2 separate regions of the Homo sapiens genome follow, and region 2 is linked to region 1. The links are contacts of gene promoters, found by promoter capture Hi-C in blood cells and fetal thymus (Javierre and others, 2016). All regions are on one chromosome and are shown on one strand. Each heading gives the region's core, a stretch centred on a gene start or on the middle of the fragment in contact. The rest is flanking DNA. Distances are from core to core; before and after follow the strand shown.

Region 1 (3,617 bases), core at 1,109-3,608:
ACTGATAACATACTTCGTTCATCTGAACATCTTGAGGGGAGATTGAGAACACTAGTAAAGGATGTGAGGTTAAAGTAGGAATAAATATGTAAAAAACTAAATAAGCACATAAACAAAACCAAGATAGTTGTAACTCCAGGGAAATCCAAAAGTTACAAAGAAAACAAAAAGTAATCATAGCTTCCTACATGGTTCCACTGTGACTAGTTTATATATCATCATACAAATAAAACTTGGAATCTTGATCTAAAAAAATTACCACTGAAGAATGGGGGTTAGGAAGGGTGCATAACTATATATTAATAGAAAAAAGATTTTGAAAAAGACAGAAAACAGGGCTTCTGAAAATAAACATGAATCAACAGCATTGGTTCCTGTGTCTGAACCATGGGTGTCAGGGGCAATGATTATGCCCCCTTCAGGACTGTCAATGTGTCTTGTGAACCTTCTTGTTGGAGGGAAAAAACCCAAAACTGGCTGGGCACGGTGGCTCACGCCTGTAATCCCAGCATTTTGGGAGGCTGAGGTGTCCGTATCACAAGGTCAGGAGTTTGAGACCAGCCTGGCCAATATGGTGAAACCCCGTCTCTTCTAAAAATACACAAATTAGCCGGGTGTGGTGGCATGCGCCTGTAGTCACAGCTACTTGGGAGGCTGAGGCAGGAGAATCACTTGAACTTGGGAAGCGGAGGTTGCACTGAGCTGAGATCGCCCATTGCACTCCAGCCTGGGAGACAGAGCAAGACTCTGTCTAAAAAAAAAAAACAAACCAACCCAAACTACTGTCAGTGTATGGATTAACCTATTCAGACACAGAACAGTTCTGGCGATTATTGTTTAAAGTGACAGCATTCCAAACCCTCAGGCCATCAAATCTGAGAGCCCAGAACAATTGTATAAGCTAACATCAGTTGGCTTTTTTCCCATCCTTTTTGGAAACAAGTATGTTTGAATACTTGGCTGCACTAATCTTTCAAGCACATATACTTAAGTCTCCTTAATTTTGACTGAGATGAGGAAACAAAGTTGGCTTATTTTTCTCAGTTCCTTAAAAACAGTAACTCAAGATAAACCCTTTCAAAATGCAGTACAGTACTTTTAAAACAAAAGCCATCCAAGTTGAATAAGCGATGGCAGTTTGGGGGCCTGATATGGCTGTTATTTATAAGGTGGCCATTTTTACATCCTAAGAGTAGTTCATTAGTCAATGCATTTTGAGTATATCAAATTTGATTTGATCTTATCCTAGCATACTCTGAACACATCTTGAGATCAACCCTTCTCAAGTGATTTTGGTGAGCATAGCCAAAGAGTACCCTCTGCTGGTCAGAAAAAAAATGGTGCTTTCACAATACCCAGATTTACTCCAACGATTGCATATGCATTTAGGTTTTGTGGCTCTTAAAATGCTTTTTTTTTTTTTTTTGAGATGGAATTTCGCTCTTGTTGCCCAGGCTGGAGTGCAATGGCGCGATCTCGGCTCACGGCAACCTCCGCCTCCCGGGTTCAAGCGATTCTCCTGCCTCAGCCTCCTGAGTAGCTGGAATTACAGGCGCCCGCCACCACGCCCAGCTAATTTTTTGTATTTTTAGTAGAGACGAAGTTTCACCATGTTGGCCAGGCTGGTCTCGAACTCCTGACCTTAGGTAATCCAACTGCCTCGGCCTCCCAAAGTGCTGGGATTACGGGAGTGAGCCACTGCGCTGGGCCTACTTTTTAAAGTGTATGGAAGCATTAACTTTAATGTTAACATCAGAATTTGAGAAAAAGAAGTTTAATAATTCAAAATTTCGTGTAAAATAATCAAGAACTCCACGTTTCTATCACTCACTGTAGGCTCCCGTCCCTTCCACCCCCGGGCGGGGACCCCTCCCAGCGACCCGGCCAGCTCTCAGCACTTCGGTCCCCACTGGCCTACTCGCTCCGACGGAGGGGCTCCTGCAACTGCGCTGTACCGTAAATATTTGCTGAATCGATTTGACTTTTACTTGTTCCAATTTCGCTTTTTTGTTGTTTTGTTTTTTTGTCTTTTTACGAACAAGAGGTTTAGAGAACCACATGGAAAAAAGGCAGGGCCAGGCCCGGACACCCCGCCTCCTGCCTCCCGGCCCGGCGGTGCCCGGATGCCCCGCCCGCGCCCATGGCGCAGCCACACACGACCTCGGTCCCGTACTTCGCGCGCTCTCCTGCACCGCCGCCGCCATCTCGCTCAGGAGCTCCTCCACAACCGCCGGCAACACTACGGCCATCGCGCCGCAGGACACGCCCTCCACGACCGGCGGACCGCCGCGACGCTCCAGCTGACTGCGCCTACCTGTGGAGGATCCTGACCCCCCGCCGGGGCAGGGCGAGACGGAGTGACGTCGGGGCGCGTCATCGCGCGTGCGGACGCAGGGATGTCCTGCTCAGTCGTCAGGGCCCGGCCAATCCGGAGGGCGCTCGGCGCGTGGTCGGGGGCCAGGAGCGCGTCTGGCCTGCAGTGCGCAGAGGACGCGGCGGGAGCATGTTCCGGCTCCTGAGCTGGAGCCTGGGCCGAGGCTTCCTGCGGGCCGCGGGGCGGCGGTGCCGGGGCTGCTCCGCGCGCCTGCTCCCGGGGCTGGCAGGAGGTCCGGGGCCCGAGGTGCAGGTGCCGCCATCCCGAGTCGCGCCGCACGGCCGGGGCCCAGGCCTGCTGCCGCTGCTGGCAGGTGAGGGGCGCGGGCCGGGCGGGGCCGGCCGGGCGGGGACAGGGGCGCGGGCCGGGCCCGATGACCTCAGAGCCCCTTCCCGCAGCGCTCGCCTGGTTCTCGAGGCCCGCTGCGGCAGAGGAGGAGGAGCAGCAGGGAGCCGACGGGGCCGCTGCCGAGGACGGGGCGGACGAGGCCGAGGCAGAGATCATCCAGCTGCTGAAGCGAGCCAAGGTGAGGCGGCTCCGGGCCCTGCGCCCGGCCGAGCGCGGTAGCCTTTGTGAGCGGGGTCTTGGCGTTGCTGCGCATTACTCTCTCCGCCTCGCCGAAGAGTGGATGGAGGCTCCGCGGGTAAAATTGCCGAGAATGAGGTGGGTCATCCGAGAGGGGATTGGAATCCATCCAGGCTTTTCCGACTCTAAGGCCTGCAGTAAAACCTCTGCAGTGTCAAGTGCAAATGGAGATGGCGCCCTAGGCATCACGCTTTATGCAAACGAAATATCGGGAACGTTTTGTAGTGGTTTTATCAATTAACCAGCCTATCTGAAATGACATAATTTCGCACGTATATAGCGGCCTGAAAATGGCAACTTAGTGTTGGTTATGCGGTTCGGTTCTCCTCCTGAATTCTTCCTTTTCTCCACATCCTTTTCTATTTTTTTTTCCTCCTCTTTTCCCAAGTTATCTCATCTCTTCCATTGAGCTAAATACCTACTCGATGCCAACAACGTCCAAATTTGTATTTCCATTCTGTAGTGTGCTACTGACATGCCATTTGCACTTTAGGACCATACCTACCTCTCAGATTTAACATGCCCAAAACTAAACGATCTTTAATGCCTCCTCAACATACGCTTTCGCCATCTCTTTACTACCATCAGTTTTTCAGCCTAAAAACCTCATAGTCATTCTTAAAACTTGTGGTACCTTACCATTGCCTTCCAATACACT
Region 2 (3,628 bases), core at 50-2,549, 760 kb before region 1:
TATTCAATGAGCATTTGTTGAATACCTACTGCTTTGAGCCAAGCCCTCTGGTTGACTCTGATGATCCAGAGATGAAGAAGATGGTTTTCAACCATAAGCACAATAAATAAAACACATGCATTAAGATAGTAAGTCTATCATCAACCACATTATATGTGAATGGGTTCAAGGCACTCATAAGATATGGAATTTTATCTTTGATTAAGACATTTTGGGAGGCTGAGGCAGGTAGATCACTTGAGGCCAGGAGTTCAAGACCAGCCTGGCCAACATGCCAAAACCCCATCTCTACGAAAAATACAAAAAAATTGGCCAGGTGTGCTGGTGGACACCTATAGTCCCAGCTACTTGGGAGGTTGAGGCAGAGAATCGCTTGAACTCAGGAGGTGGAGGTTGTAGTGAGCCAAGATCACACCACTGCACTCCAGCCTGGGCACAGAGAGAGACTCTGTCTCAAAAAAAAAAAAAAAAAAAAAAAAGAGAGACATTGTAGCTATATTCTAATATAATAGATACACCTAAAACAAGCAACAGTCAAAAACAAAAAAGATTCTGAAAAGAAGCTTCAGGCAAATGTTAACAAAAAAGAAAGAAGATAAATTAATAATAAAAAATAGAACTTATGTTGAAAGGATAAAAGTGGCCAGAGAGTTGTTTGGTTGTTTCATAGAGGAAAGATTTGGTTTATTTGATCTTTACTTCTGGTTTACATGATCTATGACTGAAGAAAATAAATCATTATGCATATAATAACATGGCCTGAAAAAGTTAAAATCAAAAAGTAATCAAAATATGAGAAGAAATTGTTAAAATCACAATAACAGTAGAAGACTTTAGCTTCCTTCCTCAAAATAGATGTCAGGTAGACCAAAAAGAAGAAAGAATATAGATTACATAAGAGGATTAACAAATCTGTCCTAATAGATGTATAGAAAACTTGTGTCTATATAGCAAAGTTATTTTCAAACACACATGGGACAGCTTTTCAAACTGACTATAAGGGCAACAAAGAATATCTCAATAAATATAGAAGCAGAAATGATGTAGGCTCAACATATACCTAAAGGCAAACAGAAATTAGACATTAAAAACAAACTAGCCAAAATAAATTTGGAAATTTAAAAACAGTGTTCCAGATAATTCCTCGGATTAAAAAAAACAAGATGAAAAGTAAAAACTTCTTCAGCAAGGAATTATATAGAGAGCCACATGGCACACCTGTGGGTTGTAACCAAAGCAGTTCTCAGAGGACAATGTATACACTTCTAAGCATTTGCTAGAAAAATCCTTAAAAAGAGTGAACTACACTTTCAACTCAAGAAGCCAGAAAAAAAACAATGAAATAAGTCCAAAAATTAATTGACTTAATATGGATAAAAGCACAGACTAATGAGACAGAAAAAAATATTAAAATACATTTAATAAAAATGTCTGGTTCTTTGGGGATACATCAACAAGTTAGACAAATTTTATTCAAGTACATAAAAGAAGTACTAAAGAAACATACTAAGTTCCTGGATAGAAACACTCAAAGTTATAAAGATGCCAATTTCATCCAAAATAATCTACAAATTCAATGCTGTCCTAATCCATATTGCAACTGGAACTGGAAAAAAATCAATTAAAAATTCATCTAAAAAACAATGAGCAATGACAGATAAGAAAAAATTTGAAGTAAACACAACAGCAACTAAAAACCAAAACGAACAAATGAACAAAAAGAAAATCAGAAAAACATATAAAACCAATGAGTCAAGATACCACCTACCAGATTTAAAACATATTTCTATATTTTGCTTATTACAGTATATGGTATAAATTAAATATACAATTAATTGTAACTTTATAATATATAATTATAGAACATATCATAGAACTATGATATATACAATATATAATTATAGAACATATCATAGAAGTATGATATATAATTATATAATATATAATTATAGAAGTATATATGTTCAAGTGCTTATATTATAATTATATAACATATAATTATAATTAATAAAATGTATTTTATTTATAGACATACAAAGCTTATATTTATATTATAAAGTTTTAGCAATTCAAAAATATGGTGTTAATCATGAAAGAAAAATAAAAGAATGGGATGGAATAAGACTTTGGAAGCATACATGTAAATTTGGTAGATAATACACAACATCATATAAACCAGTGGGGAAAAATACAACAGACAATACATAGTGTTGGCTATTCATTTGGTAAAACATAAAATTAAATCTCTAGTTCGCATCATTAACAAAATTAAATTACAGACAGAACAAAGAGAAAACAGCTAAGTATAAAATTGAAAAGCCATGTGATTAGCAAAGGAGAAATATGAACAGCCAATAAACATCGTAAAAGGTGCCCAACCTCACTAGCAACCAAGGAAATGCAAGAGAAACCCATGAGGAGGGTGACACCAATTTTCATCCAGCCAATAGGCAAAATTCAAAAAAAATGGATAATATCAGCAGAACAAATAAGTGATAGCTACCTGCAGACACCATTCACAGGAATAATAATAATATTATTATTATAATCCTTTTGTGACCAGCCATTTTGTGGCAGAATATATTAGGTTGATACAAAAGTAATTGTAATTTTTGCCATTAAAAGTAGTTTAAAAATTGTAACACCTCTAGCGTAATGACACTATATGTGTTCAAGTGCTTATCTACTATATCCTGGAAAAACAGTGAACATATACTCAGAGGAAAATAAATAAGGACATTGATTGTAGCATTTCTATGAGGGAAAATAAATTATGGTATATCCTCACAATGAAATATTTTGCAGCAGTTAAAAAAATCATGAGTTAGAAAATGAAGAGTCTTTGAAAGGTCTCCAAGACAATGAAAAGAGTAAGGTGCACACACAACATGTCATCATTATGAAAACAAACACCAAAAAACTATGTAATTGCGTATAGACATCCACAGGCATGCAAATATTCGTAGAGAAAGAGCCAAAGTTGTGTCAAATTGATGTCAGTGGGTTCCCCCAGGAACTACTGTTGCAACGAAGAAGAGTTTGGTCAAGAAGCCTTTCAGTTGAGGATATTTTCATGTATTATAATACTTGTATTACTTAAATAATTAAAACCAATTTAAAAGATTACAAAGGTAAAAACAGATGCAGCACTCTATTGACTTACTAAGAGTCAGGATTCCAAAACTCAAAGGGCTAGTGGAATTCTGGGCAGGACTGGGCTTCCACATGCCCAGGAAAACAACAAGGGATTTTCCTTTCCTCCAGTGCCATTGATCAAAAGCTACACAAGGACAGCGAGAGGAAAAAAAACAGAGCCCAGCCCAGGAGAAAGCAAACTCCATTCCAGCTCCAAAAGGCTGGTGCAAGATTCAAGAGCTCTCGTTGTTGCTCAAAGGGAACCCCACAGGGCCCTGAGGACATTTCTAAGCTCAGATGATGCTGCTCCCCAATCAGAGCCATTCATCAGAACTGGAATAGACAGGTAACAACCAGCGCAGTAAGAGACAGCAGATATCACACACTCCAGAAATGACAGGGCTTTGATCCTGTCCAAGGTAAGGGTCCCGTGTGAGCACGTGCAAAGCCTGACTCTCTCCAGCATTTATGTGCTCTGGTTAGGACAGCCCAG

Evidence for each region. The method cuts DNA at HindIII sites, captures the fragments that hold promoters and counts their contacts. A CHiCAGO score of 5 or more calls a contact.
Region 2: a fragment that was not itself captured here is called in contact with the fragment with the promoter of ZSWIM7 in region 1 in 1 of 17 cell types (erythroblasts); the score reaches 6.5 in erythroblasts.

The regions. Positions count from the first base shown.
Region 1 is chr17:15,997,346-16,000,962 of GRCh38, forward strand. ZSWIM7 (zinc finger SWIM-type containing 7) reads right to left here and starts at 2,359. Exons shown (of 5, transcript NM_001042697.2): 1 at 2,174-2,359. The coding sequence starts at 2,249. It overlaps TTC19 (tetratricopeptide repeat domain 19), which reads left to right and starts at 2,479. Exons shown (of 10, transcript NM_017775.4): 1 at 2,479-2,687; 2 at 2,773-2,900. The coding sequence starts at 2,504. RefSeq lists silencers at 1,933-2,092, 2,443-2,832 and an enhancer at 2,233-2,322. The HindIII fragment of the contact is 18,071 bases long and covers 1-3,617 here.
Region 2 is chr17:15,241,797-15,245,424 of GRCh38, forward strand. All of the region lies in intron 3 of PMP22 (peripheral myelin protein 22), which reads right to left. Among named protein-coding and RNA genes, the nearest start is that of MIR4731, 8.1 kb to the right of the region's middle. The HindIII fragment of the contact is 1,476 bases long and covers 562-2,037 here.